Regions from separate parts of the Homo sapiens genome. Here all the other regions are linked to region 3. The links are contacts of gene promoters, found by promoter capture Hi-C in blood cells and fetal thymus (Javierre and others, 2016). All regions are on one chromosome and are shown on one strand. Each heading gives the region's core, a stretch centred on a gene start or on the middle of the fragment in contact. The rest is flanking DNA. Distances are from core to core; before and after follow the strand shown.

Evidence for each region. Contacts are between HindIII fragments. The CHiCAGO score rates a contact against its expected background, and 5 or more counts as called.
Region 1: a fragment that was not itself captured here is called in contact with the fragment with the promoter of OR7G3 in region 3 in 3 of 17 cell types (erythroblasts, naive B cells and total B cells); the score reaches 8.2 in erythroblasts.
Region 2: a fragment that was not itself captured here is called in contact with the fragment with the promoter of OR7G3 in region 3 in 1 of 17 cell types (M0 macrophages); the score reaches 5.3 in M0 macrophages.
Region 4: the fragment with the promoter of COL5A3 here is called in contact with the fragment with the promoter of OR7G3 in region 3 in 1 of 17 cell types (total CD8 T cells); the score reaches 6.3 in total CD8 T cells.
Region 5: a contact is called between a fragment that was not itself captured here and the fragment with the promoter of OR7G3 in region 3, in 5 of 17 cell types (total B cells, monocytes, naive B cells and 2 more). The highest score is 8.7, in total B cells.
Region 6: the fragment with the promoter of ZNF562 here is called in contact with the fragment with the promoter of OR7G3 in region 3 in 1 of 17 cell types (naive B cells); the score reaches 6.7 in naive B cells.
Region 7: a contact is called between the fragment with the promoter of UBL5 here and the fragment with the promoter of OR7G3 in region 3, in 4 of 17 cell types (total B cells, neutrophils, M0 macrophages and 1 more). The highest score is 6.3, in total B cells.

Annotation. Positions count from the first base shown.
Region 1 is chr19:9,873,547-9,876,962 of GRCh38, reverse strand. All of the region lies in intron 1 of OLFM2 (olfactomedin 2), which reads left to right. Among named protein-coding and RNA genes, the nearest start is that of PIN1, 40 kb to the right of the region's middle. The HindIII fragment of the contact is 304 bases long and covers 1,541-1,844 here.
Region 2 is chr19:8,592,949-8,596,448 of GRCh38, reverse strand. ADAMTS10 (ADAM metallopeptidase with thrombospondin type 1 motif 10) reads left to right here. Exons shown (of 26, transcript NM_030957.4): 10 at 37-142; 11 at 230-376; 12 at 546-687. Among named protein-coding and RNA genes, the nearest start is that of ADAMTS10, 16 kb to the left of the region's middle. The HindIII fragment of the contact is 664 bases long and covers 1,919-2,582 here.
Region 3 is chr19:9,124,863-9,128,578 of GRCh38, reverse strand. It overlaps OR7G3 (olfactory receptor family 7 subfamily G member 3), which reads left to right and starts at 1,629. Exons shown (of 1, transcript NM_001001958.1): 1 at 1,629-2,567. The coding sequence starts at 1,629. The coding sequence ends at 2,567. The HindIII fragment of the contact is 3,002 bases long and covers 1-2,339 here.
Region 4 is chr19:10,009,046-10,012,431 of GRCh38, reverse strand. It overlaps COL5A3 (collagen type V alpha 3 chain), which reads left to right and starts at 1,928. Exons shown (of 67, transcript NM_015719.4): 1 at 1,928-2,134. The coding sequence starts at 2,047. The HindIII fragment of the contact is 8,603 bases long and covers 1-3,386 here.
Region 5 is chr19:9,802,874-9,806,141 of GRCh38, reverse strand. No RefSeq gene overlaps it. Among named protein-coding and RNA genes, the nearest start is that of FBXL12, 15 kb to the left of the region's middle. The HindIII fragment of the contact is 560 bases long and covers 1,610-2,169 here.
Region 6 is chr19:9,673,765-9,677,026 of GRCh38, reverse strand. ZNF562 (zinc finger protein 562) reads left to right here and starts at 1,927. Exons shown (of 6, transcript NM_001130031.2): 1 at 1,927-2,012. RefSeq lists enhancers at 721-1,720, 1,983-2,042, 1,721-2,220, 1,759-2,958. The HindIII fragment of the contact is 670 bases long and covers 1,602-2,271 here.
Region 7 is chr19:9,826,621-9,829,972 of GRCh38, reverse strand. UBL5 (ubiquitin like 5) reads right to left here and starts at 2,055. Exons shown (of 5, transcript NM_001048241.3): 1 at 1,989-2,055; 2 at 1,580-1,646; 3 at 1,298-1,381; 4 at 1,099-1,136; 5 at 1-8. The coding sequence starts at 1,635. RefSeq lists a silencer at 1,939-2,245 and enhancers at 2,289-2,338, 1,749-2,473. The HindIII fragment of the contact is 5,434 bases long and covers 1-2,599 here.

The DNA of each region.
Region 1 (3,416 bases), core at 443-2,942, 750 kb before region 3:
CCACCGCACCCAGCCTCTGAAGTAGCTATTCTTCTGTTTCTTTACTTCTCTAATAAACTTGCTTTCACTTTAAATAAATAAATAAATAAAATGGATTACGTTTCCAACACATGAATTTTGCGGGGACACATTCAAACCATAACATTACGTTAAGCCATTCTGATATATTAACAACCACCTCATGACATCAGTACTATTCTTAGCTATATACTCTAACTGGGGGAACGGAGGCACAGGATGGTTAAGTCAGTAGCCCAAGGTCACACGGCAGACCTGAGGCTCGAACCTAGGAGACCCTTAATGACCACGTCCTCCCACCTCCACTGGGGGAATTGAATGCATTTGAGACTCATTTCTTTGAAACCCTGGAATGTGTGTTGGAGGTGTAGCCAAGGGATAAAGGGTTTGGACCCAGAGTGGACTTGCCACCCGCAGGGGCGCATGGGGACCTAGCAGGAAAGAGCCCTTGGAGGTGGGTTTTCAGGAGTCCTGGTACCTGGCTGTCTGTTATTGGCAGGTTGATCAATGTCACCTCCTGGCTGTGCTGTCCAGCCTTCGAGGCCTCCCTCCAGCCGCTGCCTGGGGGACTCGCAGCAAACACTTCCATTTTGTATAGGGGTGTCCCTGGCTATCGGTGTGAAATGCCTCAGCCAGCCATGGAAGTTAAATGTCCCCCATGGCGACCTTTTCCACACGCGGACGGATTGATTTCAGAAATCCATCCCCGGCCAAAGCGCCCAGCCCCAGCCCCTACCACGGGCGCTGATGGCTGCAAATTTATATCCAGGCCAGAAATTGAATTCCTGTAAGTTGAAGGAACTATCTGAAAAGCTCACCCAGGCTCATTTTTACGTCTGAAAAACTTCAGGCAAGAGATTAAATTGGGGCCAGTGTCTCCCAGCAGTAGGGACCTCGGTGGCGGGGAGATGACCTCGCTGAAGACAGCTTCTTTAGATTCTCTGCCTTCAGCTTGGCCTCCTGGGGCTGAGAAATAAAAAGCAGTGAGACCTGCAGGCCTGCATGGCTAAAGGGATTCCCACTTCTGACCAGCTAATGTTAGAAAAGGGACATGCTCTGTGTACCCAAGGCAGGCTTTTGGTCCCCGTGGTAGCTATTGAGCTATTCAGAGGGACAGGAAATAAAACTGCTAATTCAGGCCAGGTGCAGTGGCTCATACCTGTAATCCCAGCACCTTGGGGAGGCCGAGGTGGGAGGATTGCTTGAGCTCAGGAGTTTGAGACAGGGCGATACCCTGTCTCTGTGAGAAAAAACAAACAAAAAACAAAAGAAAAACAACAACAACAAACAACCAGATGTGCTGGTAAGTGCCTGTGGTCCCAGCTACCCGGGAGGCTGAGGTGGGAGGATCACCTGAGCCAGGGAAGTCGAAGCTGCAGTGAGTCGTGATCGTGCCACTGCACTCCAGCCTGTCTCAAAAAAAAAAAAAAGCTGCTAATTCATCTTCATCCCCGGCCAGGCCCCTGCACCAGCTCCTAAGGCCACCTCAGTCCCAGCAAATTGGCGAGGTTCTAATTAAGCTTCCTTGGGCTGTGGCAGAGAGGACATCAGAGTCTGTGGATCATTCCAGAACCCTCGCTCTTCCCTGCCCCCTGCCAGAGGCATGAAGGCTGGGGAAGGAGAAGCAGATAAATCAAGTGACAGCTCCGTGAAGGAAGAAACCCCATCTTGCTAGAAAGATCTCTCTCGCCTGCCTTGAAAAAATGAGACTGATGCAAATGCGGCTGCTTCTCTTTGGTACAAAAGCCCTTAAATATTAAAGAAATGAATCCTTGATGTCTACAAAGAAAGGATCAAAAACAAATCTTTCTGAAAGGAGAAAAGCTTTTATTTCGCCGTGAACTCTTCTAGATCTAGCCTCTGGCAGGGATGCCTGCGGAACAGGGAGCACAGGAAGATAAAGCTCTCAGTGATGGCCATTCAATATTTGTTCATTTAGGAAGCGTCTGAAGCAGCTACTGCATTGGGTTACAGGCTGGGGAAACGTCCAGCAAAGTGAGGCCACAGTTCCTGCCCTCAAAAGCCATTAGGGGACGGGTGCAGTGTCTCATGCCTGTAATCCCAGCACTTTGTGAGGCCGAGGCAGGAGGATTACTTGAGCTCAGGAGTTCAAGACCAGTCTGGGCAACACAGCAAGACCTTGTCTCTAAAAAATAAAATAAAAGACTGGGTGCGGTGGCTCATGCCTGTAATCCCAGCACTTTGGGAGGCCAGGGTGGGTGGATCACTTGAGGTCAGCAATTTGAGACCAGCCTGGCCAACATGGTGAAACCCCATCTCTACTAAAAATAGAAAAGTTAGCCAGGCATGGTGGTGCACACCTGTAGTCCCAGCTACTTGGGAGGCTGAGGCAGGAGAATCGCTTGAACCCAGGAGGTAGAGGTTGCAGTGAGCCGAGATGGCTCCACTGCACCCCAGCCTGGGCGACAGAGGGAGACTCTATCTCAAAAATAAATAAATAAAATAAAAGCCGGTGGTGGCTGGGCATGATGGCTTATGTCTGTAATGCCACCACTTTGGGAGGCTTAGGTGGGAGGGTCACTTAAGGTCAGGAGTTTGAGTCTAGCCTGGGCAACATAGTGAGACCCCCATCTCTCTTAAAAAAAAAAAAAAAAAGGCCAGTGGGGCATTCTCCAAAACTCCCTGGCCAGTAATCCTCAAAACTGTCAAGGTCAGAAAAAACAAGACAGAAACGTCATAGACCAGATAAGTCTAAAGACATGTGATAACCACTGAGTGTAACGTGGGATCCTGCATTAGATTCTGGAACAGAAAAAGCACTCAAGTGGGAAAACTGGGGAATTTGAATAAAGTCTAGAGTTTAGTTAATAGTAATGGATGCACGGATGTTGATTTCTTAGTTGTGACAAGTGTATCATGGTTATGTAAGATGTAATAACAGGGAAGTCAGGATGAGAGGTACACAGGAGCTCTCTGTATTATTGTTGTAACTTTTCTGTAAACCTAAAATAATTCCAAAAGTAAAAGTTGATTAGGTAGGCATGGTGGCCCACACCTGTAATTTCAGCGCTTTGGGAGACCAAGATGGGAAGATCGCTTGAGGTCAGGAGTTCGAGACTAGCTTGGGAAACATAGTGAGATCCTGTCTCTACAAAAAAAAAAAAAAAAAAAAAAAAAAAAAAAAAAATTAGCTGGGCATGATAGTGTACATCGGTAGTCCCAGCTACTTGGGAGGCTAAGGTGGGAGGATTGCTCGAGTCTGGGAGGTTGAGGCTGCAGTGAGCCATGATCACACCAATGTGGGACACGGCCTGGGGGACAGAGCAAGACCCTATCTCAAAACAAAAATAAAAATAAAAAAAGTATCAGGGTGTGGTGGCACACACCTGTGGTCTCAGCTACTCCGGAGGCTGAAGCAAGAGAACTGCTTGAGCCTA
Region 2 (3,500 bases), core at 1,001-3,500, 530 kb after region 3:
CCTCCCAGCCCCATCCCCACATGTCCGTCTTCCCAGGCCTGGCCCCGGTGGGCGGAATGTGTGAGCGCGAGAGAAGCTGCAGCGTCAATGAGGACATTGGCCTGGCCACAGCGTTCACCATTGCCCACGAGATCGGGCACACGTGAGGCCAGGGCACACAAGAGGGGGAGGAGGGGAGGAGCTGGGCGGGTCCCTCAGCGCCCGGCAGAGCCGACACCCCTTTCCCCAGATTCGGCATGAACCATGACGGCGTGGGAAACAGCTGTGGGGCCCGTGGTCAGGACCCAGCCAAGCTCATGGCTGCCCACATTACCATGAAGACCAACCCATTCGTGTGGTCATCCTGCAGCCGTGACTACATCACCAGCTTTCTAGAGTGAGGATGCACCTGGGTGTCCCTCAGAGCGGGTCACACTCATGGTGGGGCAGGGTACACGGGAGACGATAGAAATCAGGGATGCTCCCTGGGACCCCCATCCAGCTGAGGCTCCTGAGCTCTTGATTTGCAGCCACCTAGCATGACAGTTGCTTTTCTCTCGAGGCAGCTCGGGCCTGGGGCTCTGCCTGAACAACCGGCCCCCCAGACAGGACTTTGTGTACCCGACAGTGGCACCGGGCCAAGCCTACGATGCAGATGAGCAATGCCGCTTTCAGCATGGAGTCAAATCGCGTCAGTGTAAATACGGGGTAGAGAGAGTCTTCCTGCTTTCCTTCCTGGGAGGGGAGGGGGCCGCTGGGGCTGGGGGAGGGAACTCCACCAGGGCACCCACCTGGGAAGTGAGGGGGTGGGAGAACCGGGAAGGGGGGTGAGGTGAGCCCCCATGGTGACCTGGGAGGACAGAGGTGCATGGAGTGTGCAAAATGTCCTAAGCAATCAGACAGTGCTTGGGAACAAAAATGGGATCACCTGCTTCTCCAGACCCCTGATTTGAGGGCTGGGCTGGGGGGCCAGCTTCTGTCTGGCACATCACACCCCCTGTGGGCTACAGCAGGATCAAAGTCTCAAGACCTCTCACGGGGCAGTTTTTAACTAAACATCCAGTCCTGACGGAAATAATTTCCCTGGGGATGAGCCATCTTTCCTACTTGGCAAAGAACTAGACAGAACCTTCCAGGGACTCCCTGTCTGGAGGAGCTCTGAGCCTCCTGACCTCTCCCCACCCTTTCCTGAGGTTTAGATTCCCAAAGCCCCATTCGTGCATAGAGAAGGGCATTGGGGGGCAGGAGGTTCCACTCCCAGCTCCCCCCAGGAAGCTGAAGACCTGCTGGCTTCCTGCTTCAGCCACCAAGGTTCAGCCAGGATCTGCTCCTCCTCTGCCCACCTGCCTCGATTCCCTAAATGCACCCCTAAGCTCCTCACAGTCTCAGCCCTAGGGGCCCAGGTTCAGCCCCAGTTCTTCACACTATCACAACTCAAACGATCAGAGTTTTTGTGATGCCATGTTAATGCAAAGCAGAGGGCAAGCAGCTGCCAAATTGCCCTCCCTTCATTCCACTGCAAGACAGAGACAAACCCTGGAACAATTTCTATTTCACTGACATTCCACCCTTGACACCCCCCAACATCCTAACTTAGCTGGTAACTGCAGCACCCTCTAAGGAATTCCTAAAGAATTCTGAAGCTACTCCTCAACATCTGCTGTGACCCAGGTATCCTAACAATGATCATGGTGTCTGACATTTACTGAGCTCTCACTATGGGCTAAGCATGTGCTGTGTGTCACCATCTAAACTCCTGACAATCCTGCTAGCCCCCACGTTACAGAGGAAGGGACTGAGCCATAGCATAGGGAGGATGACTTGTCCAAGGCCACAGTTTGAGACCATGACAGAGCTGGGATTTAAATCCAGGTCTCTCATGACTCTCTAAATTTTACAAAGGGGCAGGGGAGGGGAGGAGCTGTCAAAATATCAAGCTTGGGCTGGCACTGGCTATATGTTGAATTGAGCCTTCCTTTTAGTTTTTGAAGGAACATCTTTCAGGCCATCTTGGCAAAGGGGGATTTATTTACTAAATGTGAACTGGTTAATATATGTAAAGGGTTCAGCCTGGTGCCTGGTCCAGAGATAGTGGTGGTCATTGTTACCCCATAATGGCATTGGTGCAAGTCCTTTCTTATCTATCCTGTCACGTGCCTCATAGCCATTTATATAGGCAAGACAGGCATTAGGCTGCCCATCTTGTAGATGAGTAAACTGAGGCCCAGAGAGGGGAAATATATTGCAAGTTGGTAGCAGAATTGAGGTCTCTGCACAACTCAAATATGCCACAGTGCCTCCTTGTGGAGAGGAGGACAAAAGCAGAGCTGAAATCATTATCTTGAAGAGGTGTCAGAAGTGGGATTGCGACAGGACTGATGTGATATTTTTAGATATGGCCAAGAGGACACAGTCTGAGTTTTTAGCTGAGAAATGTCCTCTATAAGGCAGAAGGCAGAGATTCTAGAGGACCTTTGAGGGAGAATGTATTTGAGAACAACTCTTCCAGCTTCTTACATATGTACAGGTATCTCTCAGGGGCTGACCTAGGAAGGGTCCTTTCCTGTGGCCATTGATCGATCCAGTCCCACATCTGGAAAGCTTACAAGAATTGGGTTCAAAGCGGGGATTACACTTGATAATTACAGAAGGACCACCTACTTCTTAGAGGAAAGACGCTGGGAGGTTGCTTAGGATGTGGGCCAAGAGGGTCAGAGAGGACCACCTACTTTTTAGAGGAAAGACGCTGGGAGGTTGCTTAGGATGTGGGCCAAGAGGGTCAGAGATTTTGCTTCACCTGAACTCACTGGGGCTTCTCCAGGGATATTAACCTGGACTTTAAGAGTCAGAGTGAGTCCCTGGGACTAGTTCAGCCCATCCAGGATTCAGACGGGAAGAAGGTGGGGCTGATTTTTCACCTGGAGAAAGAGAGGCATGTCCCACACAGACCTAACTCGGCATTGTCCCCTCCCAAACTCCCACCCCTCCACATAGCTTAAAAGTGTTGGGGGCTTCTCCAGTTTAGATGGGGGAACAAAGAGAACCAACAGCTGGAAAAAACTAGAGATGAGGCCGTTGGCCTAGTCATCATCCAGGCCGATTTCTCAGAACCACCACTTTCTCTTCGGCTACTTTGCCCATCCCATAAAAGAACCCCAAATCCTTCCTGTTCATTCCTCAGCAGTTCCCACGTTTCCTTCCAGAAACTCAGAAGGCACCAGGAACTGAATTGCAAAGTTCGTTAGAGCACAGACTCTGAATTAAAGAGCTGGGTTAAACTCCAGGCTATTCCCTTAGTAGCTGTGTGACCTTACCTGTCTGAAGCTTGGTTTTCTCCCAGTAAGATGGGGTAGTACTGCCTAAAGAGGTATATGGCATGTATAAAGTGCTCCATAAATGGAGCTTATTGGGAGAGTATAAGTCACAGGCCATGCCCCGCAAGGGGATGCACGAAGACCCACCGCGAGCCAGGAAGGGAGCACCGGGCTCTCTGCTCTGGGACCGGCAGTGAGCCGGACATC
Region 3 (3,716 bases), core at 380-2,879:
TGCTGGGATTATAGGTGTGAGCCGCTGTGTCTGGCCAGGAACTCAATTTGTGAAGCAAAGGGCTGAGATGGGCTCACTGCACCATTCAACTGTTCACATGCTGTGATTCTATAATATGTTTGCCCCAACTCCTGAGTCATCATTACAGAATTTCCTTAACTTATGGGTTTATGAGAACAGCAGGCTGATGTTTTGACATTGCCGGCATACATCAATTCTTTACTTCCTGCTTTGGGGGCCCCAGAATCAATTTCTCAAGAATCTGGATAAGCCAGAAGGAACAGGAAAGGTTTGGCGCTGACTCACACAGGACTCCTCCAGGAATCAGTGCCAAGGCTCAGGGGTTGCCTGAACCAGGGGCTGCACCAGTAATAATAGGAAGAGTGGGTGCAGTGGCTCAAGCCTGTAATCCCAGCACTTTAGGAGGCTGAGGCGGGTGGATCACTTCAAGTCAGGAGTTCAAGACCAGCCTGGCCAACATGGTGAAACCCTATCTCTGTTAAAAGTATAAAAATCAGCCAGGTGTGTTGGCACACACCTGTAGTTCCAGCTACTTGGGAGGCTGAGGCAGGAGGATCACTCAAACCCTGGAGGAAGAGGTTGCAGTGAGCTGAGATCCCACCACTGCACTCCAGCCTGGGTAGCAGAGCGAGACTCCATCTCAAAAAAAAAAAGAAAAGAAAAAAATAATGGAAAGAGGGTCTGATGCATGGCTTACTGTTAAAATTTTCTTTATTAACATTATCTGTGATACAAATGAAAGACAGATGAAGGCAAATAAAAATAGTGGGAGGGGCTTATGCTGCTAGATAAAGAGGGCTTAATTTTTATTTTCACAAACTGTAATGAGAAAGGGAAATTGGTGGGTGAGAAAGACACTGATAGGGTACCTAGGAAGGAAGTAAAGAACAGGCTGGGCATGGGGGTTCATGCCTGTCATCCCAGCTATTTGGGAGGCTGAGAGAGGAGGATTGCTTGAGCCCAGGGGGATGAGGCTACAGTGAGCTATGATCATGCCACTGCACTCCAGCATGGATGACAGAGAGAGAGAGACCCTGCAAAGAAGAAAGAAGGAAAGAAAGAAGGAGGGAAGGAAGGGAGGAAGGAAGGAAGGAAGGAAAGAAAGAGAGAGAGAGAGAGAAAGGAAGGAAGGAAGGAAAAGAGAGAGAAAGAAAGAGAGGGGGGAAGGAGGGAAGGAAGGAAGGAGAAAAAGAGGAGGGAGAGAGGGAGGGAAGGAGGGAGGGAGAGAGAGAAAGAAAGAGAAAGAAAGGAAAGGAAGAAAGAAAGAAAAAGGAGAAAGAAAGAAAGAAGGAAAGAGAAAAGAAAGAAAGAGAAAGAGAAAAAGAAAGAGGAGGGAGAGAGGGAGGGAGGGAAAGAAAAAGAAAGTAAGAAGAAAGAAAGAAAGAGAAAGAAAGAAAGACGGAGGGAGAGAGAGAAAGAAAGAAAGAGAGAGAAAGAGAAAGAGAGAGAGGGAGAGAGAGAAAGAAAGAAAGAAAGAAAGAAAGAAAAAGAAAGGAAGGAAGGAAGGAAGAAAGAAAGAAAGAAGGAAGGAAGGAAGGAAAAAAGGTCTATAACTTATAACTGGTTTGGTTTTGATAATATTGACAAGATCAAGACTCATCAACAACATGAAAGCAGGAAACTTCTCAGACACTCCAGAATTCTTTCTCTTGGGATTGTCAGGGGATCCGGAGCTGCAGCCCATCCTCTTCATGCTGTTCCTGTCCATGTACCTGGCCACAATGCTGGGGAACCTGCTCATCATCCTGGCCGTCAACTCTGACTCCCACCTCCACACCCCCATGTACTTCCTCCTCTCTATCCTGTCCTTGGTCGACATCTGTTTCACCTCCACCACGATGCCCAAGATGCTGGTGAACATCCAGGCACAGGCTCAATCCATCAATTACACAGGCTGCCTCACCCAAATCTGCTTTGTCCTGGTTTTTGTTGGATTGGAAAATGGAATTCTGGTCATGATGGCCTATGATCGATTTGTGGCCATCTGTCACCCACTGAGGTACAATGTCATCATGAACCCCAAACTCTGTGGGCTGCTGCTTCTGCTGTCCTTCATCGTTAGTGTCCTGGATGCTCTGCTGCACACGTTGATGGTGCTACAGCTGACCTTCTGCATAGACCTGGAAATTCCCCACTTTTTCTGTGAACTAGCTCATATTCTCAAGCTCGCCTGTTCTGATGTCCTCATCAATAACATCCTGGTGTATTTGGTGACCAGCCTGTTAGGTGTTGTTCCTCTCTCTGGGATCATTTTCTCTTACACACGAATTGTCTCCTCTGTCATGAAAATTCCATCAGCTGGTGGAAAGTATAAAGCTTTTTCCATCTGCGGGTCACATTTAATCGTTGTTTCCTTGTTTTATGGAACAGGGTTTGGGGTGTACCTTAGTTCTGGGGCTACCCACTCCTCCAGGAAGGGTGCAATAGCATCAGTGATGTATACCGTGGTCACCCCCATGCTGAACCCACTCATTTACAGCCTGAGAAACAAGGACATGTTGAAGGCTTTGAGGAAACTAATATCTAGGATACCATCTTTCCATTGATGTCTCAGCTTCTTGGGCTTACACTGCTGGGATATGTCAGGGAGAAAGAAGTAATGAGAAGTCTTGAAAGCCTGACTAATGTCTTTGGGGTTTTCTGTTTTTGTTTTTGTTTTTGTTTGTTTGTTTGTTTTTTGAGATGGAGTCTCGCTCTGTTGACCAGACTGGAGTGTAGTGACGCAATCTTGGCTCACTGCAACCTCCGCCTCCTGGGTTCAAGCGATTCTCCTGCTTCAGCCTCCGGAGTAGCTGGGATTACAGGCACGTGCCACCAAGCCCAGCTAATTTTTCTATTTTTAATAGAGACGGGGTTTCACCACATTGGCCAGGATGGTCTCGAACTCCTGACCTCAGGTGATCTGCCCGTCTCAGCCTCCCAAAGTGCTGGGATTACAGGCATGAGCCACTGTGCCCCACCTGACCAATGTCTTTGAATACATGAGACCAGAGATCAGATGGTTCAGGGTGATAGTTTTGGAATCGGACCACGTGGACTTGAGTTCTTTTTGGATTGATTGACTGACTAATTGATTTTTGAGACAGTCTCTCACTTTGTTGCCCAGGCTGGAGTGCAGTGGTGTGATCACAGCTCACTGCTGCCTCGAATTCCTGGGCTAAAGCGATCCTCTGGACTCAGCCTGACGAGTAGCTGAGACTGCAGGTGCATGCCACCACACCTGGCTTTTTTTAAATTTTTGTATCAATGCATAAGAGATGTACATTGTTTCAGGATGCATGTGATAGTGTAATACATTTGTATAATCTGCAAGGATTTGTTACTTTAGATATCCATCACCTTAAATATTTGTCTTATCTTTATGCTCCAACCATTCCAATTGTTCTCTTCTAGGTATTTTGAAATATACAATGGATTATTTTGAACTATAGTCACCCTACTGGTCTATCCAATACTAAGTCTTTTTTTAAAAAAAATTAAATTTAATTAAAAATTTAAAAACTTATTTATTTATTTATTTATTTATTTATTTATTGAGACAGAGTCTTGCTCTGTCGCCCAGTCTAGAGTGCAGTGGCTCAATTTCGGCTTACTGCAACCTCCACCTCTGGGGCTCAAGCGATTCTCCTGCCTCAGCCTCCTGAATAGCTGGGATTACAGGCGCCTGCTACTGTGCCTGGCTCATTTTTGTATTT
Region 4 (3,386 bases), core at 679-3,178, 880 kb before region 3:
CAGGAATTTTGTGAGAGTCTTTTAGTTGGAGAAGTCTCAGCCTCAGATGTCCCTGGGGTGGGAGGAGGCACAGCTTACAGAGATACCCTCTCCTCCTCCCACCCTGGGGGGCCCCCATCTCCCCCTCAGGCTTGATGGGGCCCCAACCCCTCCTCTTCAGGGACACAGAGACTCTTTGTCTGGGGAGTCAGAGGCTGGGAGGGAGGCACTGCTTGCGTCTCCCTCTTCCCCTGGGGCGGAGGTGGGGGAAGCAGGGTTCGGGGAGCAGTTCAGGGCTCAGAATACGCCTCTTGGTTCCTCCCCTCCCTGGGGAAACACCCTCACATCCTGCGTGTCTGCGCTTGTCCAATTGCATAAAAGCTCTATTTGACCTCATGGGGGCCTCTTCATGCTGGAGGTGGGGGTCCCAGCACGGTGAGGGGGGCCTCTGCCTCATCCCAAGAATGGCAAGAATCCACCCCTTCCTCCCCAGTGGCTGTGCGTTGCTTTGCGACAGGGACAGATTCCCACCACCTCCCACCAACGCGCCGGCCTTTTTTTTTGAGACAGACAGAGTCTTGCTCTGTTGTCCAGGCTGGATCGCAGTGGCACAACCTCAGCTCACTGCAACCTCCACCTCCCGTGTTCAAGTGATCCTCCCACCTCAGCCTCCCAAGTAGCTGGGACTACAGGCGCCAGTCACAATGCCTGGCTAATTTTTGTATTTTTAGTAGAGATGGGGTTTCGCCATGTTGGCCAGCTGATCTCTAACTCCTGGACTCAAGCGATCTGCCCGCCCCAGCCTCTCAAAATGCTGGGATTACAGGCATGAGCCACCGCACCCAGCTCAGACTCCCTCATTTGGTGGGGATTTGGGATTGAGGCCGGGGCATCCACTGGAGACCTGAGTTGGGGCGGGGGGAGATGAGGGTTAGGGATGGAGATGAGACCCTTTATTTGAGGAATCAAGAATTTGGGGAAAGTGAAAACTGTGTTTTGGGATCTGTGGTGAGAATTTGGGACCAGGACACGTGACTTAGGGATTTGAGTGGACAGATGAAGGTTTGGAGTAAGGCTGGGGACCCCATTTTGGGATCTGGGGTGAGATTTGAGGTGGGATGAGGACCCGTTAGGGACTTGAAGGAAAGGCTTTGGGGCTGAGGCTGGTACCTCCTATTGTGCAGCTGAGGGACTGAGGATAAAGCAGGTAGGTGAGTGAGAGTTCGGGGTGAGGTTGGGACCCCAGTTGGGGGCCTGAGTGAGGCAGAAAGGACTTGGTGCCAGGGGCGGTGGCTCATGCCTGTAACTCCAGCGCTTTGGGAGGGCAAGGCCGGAGGATCGCTTGAGACCAGAAGTTCAAGACCGGCCTGGGCAGCATAGCAAGATCCCGGTCTCTACAAAATATACATATTTTAAAATTAGCTGGGTGTGGCAGTGTGTGCCTGTGGTACCTGCTTCTCAGGAGGCTGAGGCAGGTGGATGGCTTGAACGCAGGAGTTGGAGGCTGCAGTGAGCTATGATTGCACCACTGCACTCCAGCTTGGGTGACAGATCAAGACCCTGTCTCCAAAATAAAATGTAAAAATAATAGAAAATAAAAAAGATTTGGTATAAAGCTGCACCTCCTCCTAATTCTAGGGCCTGGATGGAGGCTGAAGTCTTGAATGAGGTTAAGGTCTCCTTTGAGGGGATCTGCTAGGCGGAAAAGGTTTGGGGTAAGACTGGAACCCTCGAACTCTAGGGCTGGGTGGGAGTGACCCTTCTCCTCCACAGTGGGGTGGGGCAGGAACAACCCAGCTCCTGGCGCTGGGCTCCACCCCAGCCAGCCAATCAGCCCTCAGCACAAAGTTTCCCAACTTCCCAGTCCAGCTGTCAGCGCTCCCCCTCCAAAAAGCCCCGCCTGGCCAGGCGCTGGAGCGCAGGGCGAGGCCAGGGCGGGGTCTCGGGCAGTTTCCCGCGGACCCTGAGAGGAGCGGCCGCCGCGAGTGACTGCACCGAGCCCGAGAAGTCGCCGCGCCCCGCAGCCGCCCCGACTGGTTCCCCGCCTTGCCCGTGGGCCCCGCCGGGATGGGGAACCGCCGGGACCTGGGCCAGCCGCGGGCCGGTCTCTGCCTGCTCCTGGCCGCGCTGCAGCTTCTGCCGGGGACGCAGGCCGGTGAGCCGGGAGGGAAGAGATGGGACCCAGGGTCCACGACTCAGAGAGGCTCTAAAAGAGCGAGGGGTGGAGGGGGGTGGAGGGGCGTGGAGGGGAAGGGCGTGGGCGCCGCGTGCGGCCCCGGTGTGATGTGGGCGCATGAGTATCTGACTCTGGGTGATTTGTGGGTGTGACAGCTCGGGGTGGGGGTGGGGATGTGTGAGTGCGTTTTCTGGCGAGCGCGTGGGAATGCATGCAATGTGCAGGTGTGTGCATGTGTGTATGTGTGTGTAGCATGTGTGTGCATTTGGAGTGAAGTTGCGTATGTGCTTGCGTGTGGAGGTTGATGGTGATAGTGTGACTGTGAGTGACAGGGCAGTGCTGGGACGGTGTGTATTGCGACAGGTGAGTATGCACTTGTGCTCTTGTCTATGTGCTGATTTTCGAGGGTAACCGTGTGAGTGGTTATGCGTGTGATTGTGTGTCTCTGAGTGCCGCTATGAGGGGTGTAGTTATGATTTTTGGGTGCAAATAATTGCCCATGAGGATGAAGGTGGGTGGGGACAAGTATTGGGGGGTGCTCTTCGGGAACCCACAGTTTCCTTTGCGTCTCTTTAAATGGCTTCACCTCATTCTCCCTTTTCCTCCTCTGCCCCAAATTGGCGAGCGCCCATCTCCTCCCCTCCCTCCCTGTTGCCCCCTCCCCCACCCCGCGGTCCCCAGAGCCGCGATCAGCACCATGGACAGGGCTTCGGGGAGGGCCGCGGTGAGGGGCGAGACGGGGCGGGGCGCAGGGCGGGGCAGGAGTGGAAGTTGCTCCCCCCCTCCCCACCCCAGCTGCTGGAGCCTTGGGTGTTTTTCCCGAGGAATTTCTCAGGAGCCCCCAAGGGGTCCCGGGGGCCGCCGGATGGGTGAGTCAGCGCTGACGCACGCCCAGCTGCGCGCATCTGGCTGGGCGCCCTGTCCCGCCCCTCAGGGTTCAGAGTGGGGGGCGCTTCGGGAGTCAGGGGATGGCGTAGCTTCTCAAGTGTTGGAGATGGGGCTTCCCTGATCTGAGAGACCCTAGACTAGGTCCTCCTGGAAATCCCTTTCTAAGGTGAGCTCAGTCTCCCAACACACACACACACACACACACACACACACACACACACACACACCACAGCACACTTCTTACTTTGGAGTCCAGGAAGGTGCCTGTCCATATGGTTAATCCCTGATTGGACTATGCCGCATTCCCACGCTCACACATCCACATGGTCATGGAATCTTAGGC
Region 5 (3,268 bases), core at 640-3,139, 680 kb before region 3:
AAGCTGCCATGCTGCCATGCAATAGTATCTGAAGGGAGGCCCAGTAACTGGGCCCTATTAGGGGCTGTGAAGGCAATCATGACTCCATCTTGGATGCCAACTGCCATCTTGACTTCTGCTTAACCCAAGTCCTGAGAACAACTCCAACATTTCTAGATTTTTTTTTTTTTTTGAGACGGAGTTTTTGTTTTTGTAGCCCAGGTTGGAGTGCAATGGTGCAATCTTAGCTCACTGCAACCTCTGCCCCCAAGGTTCAAGAGATTCCTGCCACAGCCTTCTGAGTAGCTGGGATTACAGGTGCCCACCACCATACCCAGCTAATTTTTTGTATTTAATAGAAATGGGGTATCACCATGTTGGTCAGGCTGGTCTCAAACTCCTGACCTCAGGTGATCCACCCACCTTGGCCTCCCAAAGTGCTGGGATTACAGGCATGAGCCACTGTGCCCCACCTACTTTTTTTTTTTTTTTTTTGAGACAGAGTCTTATTCTGTCCCTCAGGCTGGAGTGCACTGGCCCAATCTCGACTCACTGTAACCTCCCTCACCTGGGTTGAAGCAATCCTCCCACCTCAGCCTCCCAAGTAATTGAGACTACAGGTGCACACTACCATGCCTGGTGGTTTTTTGTTTTTTTTTGTTTTTTGTTTTAAGACATAGGGTTTCGTCATGTTGCCCAGGCTGGTCTTGAACTCTTGGGCTCAAGCCATCCGCCCACCTTGGCCTCCCAAAGTGCCGGGATTACAGGCATGAGCCACTGCACCCAGCCAGGATTTCTACTTTATTTACTGTTCTTGTGTAAGAACATATACTCGCCATAGATCCTGCCCTTGGACCAAAGCAGCCTTGATGTTATTGTATAAATTACAGGCTATGACACATATCACATTCTTACCTGTCTGGAGGGTTAACTTGGCCTACACATTCTTTAGGAAAAAAAGAAAAAATTTTTTTTCGAGACAGGGTCTTGCTTTGTTGCCCAGGCCAGAGCGCATCATGGCTCATCTCAGCCTTGACCTCCAGGGCTGTAGTGTTCCTTACCCTCTCAGCCACACAAGTACCTGGGACTATAGGCACATGCCACCATGCCCAGCTAATTTTTCTTTTTTTGTAGAGATGGGGTCTCACCATATTGCCCAGGCTGGTCTCAAAGTTTTGGGCTCAAGCGATCTGCCTGCCACAGCCTCCCAAAGTGCTGGGATTACAGGTGTGAACTACTCACCATGCCCAGCCCCTACAGCTTCACTGAGGTATAATTAACATGTAATAAATTGCACATATGGCCGAGCGCGGTGGCTCACGCCTGTAATCCCAACACTGGGAGGCAGAGGCAGGCGGATCACCTGAGGTCGGGAGTTCGAGACCAGCCTGACCAACATGGAGAAACCCCGTCTCTACTAAAAATACAAAATTAGCCGGACGTGGTGGCACATGTCTGTAATCCCAGCTACTCGGGAGGCTGAGGCAGGAGAATCGCCTGCACCTGGGAGGCGGAGGTTGCGGTGAGCCGAGTTCACACCATTGCACTCCAGCCTGGGCAACAAGAGCGAAACTCCATCTCAAAAAAAAAAAAAAAAAAAAAGTTTAAATTTACCTATAGCGTGGAAGCTTCCTGCTTTGAGTTGTCCTGCTTTTCTGGACCAAGCCAATGTATTTATTAAATGTGTTTGATTGATGTCTCATGTCTCCCTAAAATATATAAAACCAAGCTGCACCCCAACCACTTTTGTCACATGTTCTCAGGACATCCTGAGGGCTGTGTCGTGGGCCATGGTCACTCATATTTGGCTCAGAATAAATCTCTTCAAATATTTTACAGAGTTTGACTCTTTGTCAACCATTGCCTTTGCAAAAATAATAATCAGGACAGTCGAGGTGGCTCACGCCTGTAATTCCAACATTTTGTGAGGCTGAATGAACTCCAGAATGGGCAGGTCATTTGAGCCTGGGGAGGTCGAGGCTGCAGTGAGCTGTGATTGCACCTCTGCACTCTAGCCTGGGTAACAGAGTGAGACCCTGTCTCAAAAAAATATATATCAGAAAATTATGACAGTGAAAGAGATCTGAGCCAATCCACCCCCCATCTTCCCTTTCCCTTAATATTTCCTGGGCTATTGGGCTGAGGTAACTTTAAGAAACATTTAGGCTATAGTTTAGGTGATAATAAGCTTTGCCTAAAACTCAATCGCTTTGGTAAAACTAATGGGGAGCCATCAGCAGGAGAGGAGCCTGATTCCTGCAAAGGCGCAGAAATGTATGTCAGCCACTATTCCAGAGGTTATGAGATATGCAACTTCCCCAATTACTCCTGCAAATAACACCACTATTGCAGAACCCCAGATTGGCCTTTGGAGATACCCTTTCAGGTTTTATTGCATGTCTGACACCTAACACTCCTCATGGACCCGTCAACCCTGCTCCTATGGCCCCACCCAAAATCGATTCAGCCTGTAGGAGGAAGGCTTCGACCCCCCTATGATTGCATCTGCCCCAACCAATCAGCAGCAAGCACCTGTTACTCTGCCATCCCCACCCGTTCCCCCAAACTGTCTTTGGAAAACCCCTAACCTAGGAGCTTTGAGATGATTTGAGTAGGAACTTCGACTCCCACGTGGCATGGCCAGCCTCATGTCCACTAAACTCTTCCTTTACTACAATGCCATTGTCTTTCTTTATGCAGTGGGCAGGAAGAACCCTCCGGCAATTACAGCTTGAGCCCAGGAATTCGATGCCAGCCTAAGCAATGTCGACGAAAAGCGTCAAACTCTGTAAAATATTTTAAGAGATTCATTCTGAGCCAAATATGAGTGACCATGGCCGGTGATACAGCCCTCAGGAGGCCAGGAGAACATGTGCCCAAGGTGACTGGGGTGCAGTTGGTTTTGTACATTTTAGGGAGACATGAGACTTCAATCAAATACATTTAAGAAATATATTGGCCGGGCGCGGTGGCTCACGCCTGTAATCCCAGCCCTTTGGTAGGCCGAGGTGGGCGGATCACATGAGGTCAGAGTTCGAGACCAGCCTAACCAAGATGGTGAAACCCCGTCTCTACTAAAAATACAAAATTAGCCGGGTGTGGTGGCACGCGCCAGTTATCCCAGCTACTCAGGAGGCTGAGGCAGGAGAATCGCTTGAACCAGGGAGGCGGAGGTTGCAGTGAGCGGAGATGGCACCACTGCACTCCAGCCTGGGTGACAGAGCGAGACACCGTCTCAAAAAAAAAAAAAAAAAAAAAGGAAAAGAAATACATTCATTTGTTCCAGAAT
Region 6 (3,262 bases), core at 678-3,177, 550 kb before region 3:
ACCCTGTTCTCCTGCTGCATTCCCCTTGCTGAGATAGTGAAAATAGTAATCAATAAATACTGAAGGAACTCAGAGACTGGTGCCAGTGTGGGTCCTCTGGACGCTGAGCGCCGGTCCCCTGGGCCCACTGTTCTTTCTCTATACTTTGTCTCTGTGTCTTATTTCTTTTCTCAGTCTCTCATCCCACCTGATGAGAAATACCCACAGGTGTGGAGGGGCTGGCCCCCTTCACCTATAATCCCAGCATTCTGCAAGGCTGAGATGGGCAAATCACGAGGTCAGGAGTTTGAGACCAGCCTGGCCAACATGGTGAAATGCCCTCTGTACTGAAAATAGAAAAAATAGCTGGGCATAGTGGCAGCCACCTGTAATCCCAGCTACTCAGGAGGCTGAAGCAGGAGAATCACTTGCACCCAGGAGACGGAGGTTGCAGTGAGCTGAGATTGCACCACTGCACTCCAGCCCGGGCAACAGAGTGAGACTCCAGTCTCAAAAAAAAAAAAAAAAAAAAAAAAAAGTAAAAAGAAAACGCAATGGAAACAGCAGGTTCTATAAAATAAAGAATGAAAAAATAGGCTGGGCGCGGTGGCTCACGCCTGTAATCCCAGCACTTTGGGAGGCCGAGGCGGGTGGATCATGAGGTCAGGAGATGGGGATCATCTTGGCTAACACCGTGAAACCCCGTCTCTACTAAGAATACAAAAAAATTAGCTGGTTGTGGTCGCGGGCGCCTGTAGTCCCAGCTACTTAGGAGGCTAGGCAGGAGAATGGTGTGAACCCAGGAGGCGGAGCTTGCAGTGAGCCGAGATTGCACCACTGCACTCCAGCCTGGGGGACAGAGAGAGACTCCGTCTCAAAAAAAAAAAAAAAAGAAAAAGAAAAAGAAAAAATAAAGGCCTACAGAAAGAATGACTGAATGGAAGAGACAGACCATGCCATCTATCACTGGCAGGTTTAATATGGAAGAATCATGGAAAGGCTCCAGGAACATGAGGAGCGGCATACAAAAAAGCTTGACACACACACACACACACACACACACACACACACACACACATATATATATATTTTTTCTTTTTGAGATGAAGTCACGCTCTTGTCCCCCAGATTGGAGTGCAGTGGCGCAACCTCGGCTCACCGCAACCTCCGCCTCCCGGGTTCAAGCGATTCTCCTGCCTCAGCCTCCTGAGTAGCTGGGATTACAAGCGCCTGCCACCACACCCAGCTATTTTTTTGTATTTTTAGTAGAGACGGGGTTTCAGCATGTTGGCCAGGCTGGTGTCAAACTCCCGACCTCAGGTGATCCGCCCGCCTTGGCTTCCCAAAGTGCAGGGATTACAGGCGTGAACCACTGGCGCTTGGCCTTATATATATATTTTAATAGAGACAGGGTCGAGCCGGGCACAGGCCTGGGCAACAAGAGTGAAACTCTGTCTCAAAAAAAAAAAAAAAAAAAAAAAGAAAAGAAAAAAAAAGACACACGGTCTTGCTATTTCACTCAGGCTGGTCTGGAACTCTTGGACTCAAGCTATCCACCTGCCTTAGCCTCCCAAAGTGCTGGAATTACAGGCGTGAGCCACTGAGCCCGCCCAGGATAAGCTTTGGAGGAGCATCCTCTGGGGTGCGTCCCATCCCCCATCCCCGCCTTTCCAACCCGTCTGGGCACCTGAAACGCGGGCTAGGCCGGGTCCCACCTCTAAACCGCCCCCAAATATGGGCCCCACCCCTCGCCCACGGTTCCGTCCAGAGGTCCGGTTCTAAACTCATCTTTTTCTCTGAACCCGTTTCTGCATCCCGCTCCCTGAGCCAACCCCAGGCACTGTCCGGCACCCACCCAGGAGGAAACTAGAATTTCTTTGTCCTACGTGCCTGAAACTCAAGCCCTGGAGCCCCACCCGGCCGGAGGCTCGGAGCGGAAGTGACGTCAGTGTGCCACCGCCATCTTTACCGGCTGTGGCTCAGCATGGTCAGTGCCGTTTAACCTTTATTGTGGTGGAGTCCACCCCGCTGTGGTGAGTTCTACCTGCTTGGGGGTCCGGGACATACCAGCGGGGCGGCAAAGGAAGGATTGGGCGTGGTCGCCCAGGAGCCTCTCAGATCCGCCTAGTTTCACTCGCTTTTCTAGGGGCTGTCAGTCCTCCTGGTGCGGCCTCTGGCCAGTTCCGAGAGGCCGCACAGTCCGTCTGGCTGCGTCGGGAAGTGTGTTTGTTCCGCCTCCGCCGGGTGTTTTCTTGAGTACTTTCATCCGCTGTGCTCCTCTCTTGAAAAGCTTGGAAAGCAACCTTTGGGAGTTTTTTTCTTTCCGAAAGGAAAAGGATTTCTGCCCTTCTGGTGAGGTTGGCTCTGGCCCCGCATTCTCCCGCGTCTGGAACCTATCTCTTCCGGCATGTTCCTGGTGAGCAACGGCGGAAAAATGGTTTCAAGAGGGCTGTGACTTCCATTTATTTGCTAAAAAATGTCTCATCTGAGAATCTGGCGTTGTCTTGATGTCCTTTACTTTTTTTTTTTTTTTGATTTGGAGTCTTACTCTGTCGCCCACGCTGGAGTGCAGTGGCACGATGTTGGCTCACTGCAACTTTCACCTCCCGGGTTCAAGTGATTGTTAGATATGAGTTTTAAATTTCTTTTTAAAAAATCAATATGTCAGTATGTTTAATTCTTTGCCTTCTACTTTTAAACTTCTCCGTAAAGCAACCTTTTTCGATCACCTGCTCCACCCTGACTCATTCTGATTACCTGCTCCACCCAGACTTATTTCGATTACTTACTCCACCCTGACTCATTTTCCACCCTGACTCATTCCAATTTCCTGCTCTGTTATAACCATTTTCCCCAACAAACCACTCACCCTGTCACTCTCTTTAAATTAGCCAATTGGAATTAGTTTAGCCTGTGGGGTCTAACCCTAGCCATCGGGGAAGGACAAAGCGGCAGGGGCCACTTTCCTCAAGAATAAGAACCCCTTCCCCTCCCTTGTCCTGGTGTGTGCTCACCATTGCTCCATCTGTGAGGGCACACCCTTCTGTAGAAGTAAATTGCCTTGCTGAGAAAAGAAAATGTTATATTTGAGTGCTTTTTTTTTGTGGCATGAAAACTTTATAACATGATTCACCTGCCTCAGCCTCCCGAGTAGCTGGGATTCCAGGCGTGCACCACCACACCTGGCTAATTTTTTATATTTTTGGTAGAGATGGGGTTTCACCATGTTGGCCAGGCTGGTCTCGAACTCCTGACCTCAAGTGATCCACCCGCCACTTATTTT
Region 7 (3,352 bases), core at 806-3,305, 700 kb before region 3:
GATTTCATCTGAAGGAAAGGTGTTAAGGAATCCTGACTCTGACTTCCGTCCCCACCCCTCTCATCCATTCACAGCCGGGTCAGGTGGCCTGAGGTCTCAGCCCAGGGCTAAGGAAGCCCATTTTGGACCAGGCCATTTTTATTTGGAGAGAACCAAAACTTTACAAAAGAATTTCTGGCTGGGTGCAGTGGCTCACACCTGTAATCCCAGCACTTTGAGAGGACGAAGCAGGTGGCTCACTTGACGTCAGGAGTTTGAGACCAGCCTGGCCAACACGATGAAACCCTGTCTCTACTAAAAATACAAAAAGTTAGCTGGGTGTGGTGGTGGGCACCTGTAATCCCAGCTACTTGGAAGGCTGAGACAGGAAAATCGCTTAAACCTGGGAGGTAGAGGCTGCAGTGAGCCAAGATTGTACCACTGCACTCCAGCCTGGGCAACAAGAGCAAAACTCCATCTCAAAAAAAAAAAAAAAAGTTTCTGTTCCTTCTAGGCCAGGCACAGTGGCTCACGGCTATAATCCCAGCACTTTGGGAGGCCGAGGCGGGAGGATCACTTGAGGCCAGGAGTTTGAGACTAGCCTGGCATACATGGTGGAACCTCATCTCTACTAAAAATACAAAAACTAGCAGGGAGTGGTGGCACACACCTGTAATCCCAGCTACTTGGGAAGCTGAGGCAGAATTGCTTGAACCCGGGAGGTGGAGGTTGCAGTGGGTCAAGATCGTGCCACTGCACTCCAGCCTGGGCGACAGAGCCAGACTGTCTCAAAAAAATAAATAAATAAAATAAAAATTGTAAAAAGTTTCTGCTCCTTTTGCACAATAGATATGCCTGAGTCTCACCCCACCCTGACCTACTGTCCAGCACTCAGGTGGAGGTCAGTAATAAATATTTTGAACTTGAAGTCAAACTATTTCACCAACCACTCTCCTCCCCAACCAAATAATTACCTAGCTCCCATTTTCTAAGTGCTCACCATGTGCCACGTATTAAGTTAAACACTTAATATGCATAAGCTCATGCAGACTTTAGTTTTGAACAGATAACCGAGGCTGGGTATGTAGATGCTTCCTCAAAAAGTCACACAAAGGATACAGTCCCCCAGAGACACGTGGTCCTTAAAAATCGTGTACCTAAGAAAAAGAGACATTTCAGAGATAAGGCTAAGGAGGCTCTTCAGTCTGTAGGCCAAATGAGGTAGCCAAGCCTAAGCAAAGGGCTGCCTGCAGCGCTCCCCCAACCAAAACCTTCCGGCCTAGTCCAGTCCACCCAGTGGCTCTACCGCTGCACTCACCACTTCTTCAGGACAATCTTGTTCCAACGGGTACCAGTTTGGGCTGCAATCAGCTTCTTAAGGTCCCCGATGGTATCATCCGTGCTGGGCGCAGAGCAGTTAAGGCAAATGGAAGCGGTAGAACGAGGAAGAGGACATTCTAGGGCAGAATACCATCTGCCAGGACCCCATCCGCCCCCTCTCCCGGGTTTAACTAAAACCATCCGACAACACAGATTGAGTTGCCTGCCTCACGCCAAGCACCCCTGCGGGTACCACTGCCTCTCGGCTGCCAGTGGATACTTGCATTTAACGCGGACCTTCTTCCCCAGACGGTCGTTGCAAACAACCTCGATCATCCTAGCTGGAGCTACACAAAGCGGGGGGTGGGTGGGAGGCAGCAAAGTCAGAGCTTCAGGCGTCTCCCAGGCCCAGAAGCCCCAGCCTACAAGTCTCCCAGTCCCAGGCCCTAAAATTCCAGGTTACTGAGCCTTCCGTTCTGCCCCCAACCCCCCGGACTCGAATACTCCCAGGCCCCAAGTCCCCTGTCCCAGGGCCGCGAACCCCGGGGAGCCGCGCCTCCGCCCCTTCTCGCCGCCTGAAAGCCCTGCCACAAAACTCCCTGGCCTCACCTCCCACCGACCCCAGACCCTGGGTGGCTGGGTCGCGACAGCTTTCTCCGACTCCGAGCCTCTCCGCTTGACCCCCTCACCTCGAATCGCCTCGAACCTGCCGACGCCACCAGCTCCTCACCCGAGCGCTGAACCCCGGTCGCAGTTAACGCTAGGAACCGGAAGCGGAAGTTAAAGTTCGAGGCCGGAAGCCCTGCCCCTAGCCAGGGGGTGTGGTCAACACTGGGACAAGTTCTTCCGGGTCTGCAGTCTGTGGTGTGTTTGCTGTTCCCAGGTACGGTTTCGGTGTCCCAAGGCTTGACAGGTGTCGCGCCTGTGGTAGGCGCGCCGGGTAGAGAGGGGGGCCTCGGCGGGTTTGTGGCCAGGGAAGGGGCGTGGAGCGAGAGTCAGAGGTCAGGCGCCGGCGCCCAGCTCGTTTGAAGTCATTGTTTGTTGCAGGGAGACTCGGTCACATGGTGGGGACGCCAGAGGGTCCCGGGAGTAGGGGTAAGCTCCTGATCCTGAGCCCGAAGCCTCTTGCAGCGGCAACTAGGAGCAAGGGCGGAGGGTGGGGGTGGGGGACGAGTTCTGCAGTCATCCCTTCTGACCCCCTGGGTTCATTCAGGGCTGGGCTTGGTGAGCATTTGGCTCACCTCTTCCCTCTGGCCATCGCGTTCCCCCGGGATACGGACTCCAGTCAGTAGGCGAAGCTTGATCCTAGAGTAGACTCTACGCTGCCCAACAGCTGCTGTTACCGCATGGTGCCGGACAGTTCCAGGCTCTTGGTGTCCTGAAGAAAGATTTGGACCAGACACACAGAGATGGCAAAGCTGCAAGTTTATTAAGCACAGTATTCCACTCTCGGAGTGGGGAGAGCGGACTGACCTCTGCGAGATAAGATCAGCCCCAGCTTGGTATAGTTTGGGTCTTTTTTTTTTTTTTTTTCTGAGACGTAGTCTCGCTCTGTTGCACAGGCTGGAGTGCAATGGCGCGGTGCCGGCTCACCGCAACCTCCGCCTTCCGGGTTCAAGCGATTCTCCTGCCTCAGCCTCCCGAGTAAGTAGCTGGGATTACAGGCGCCCGCCACCACGCCCGGCTAATTTTTGTACTTTTAGTAGAGATGGGGTTTCACCTTATTGGCCAGGCTTTTTTTCTCTTCCCAAGGCTGCCTAATATCTAGCCAGTGTCTACCTTTTTGAATGATAGGTGTGTTGCTTACTTTGGCCCCTGTGTGCTTGAGAGCCGCCTCCATTCATGATATGCCGTCCATATGCATGAGCGCTAATGAGCTGGTTATCCTTATCATGTTAAGGATACTTTTTGTCTTTAATGCGCGTGCTTATGCCTAAAGAGCTGCTCCTTACTGGTTTGGTCCTGATTTCCCCGGCCGTGGGATTTTTACTGTTTTTTTTTTAATTTTATTTATTTATTTATTTATTTATTTATGGAGTCTCGCTCTGTCGCC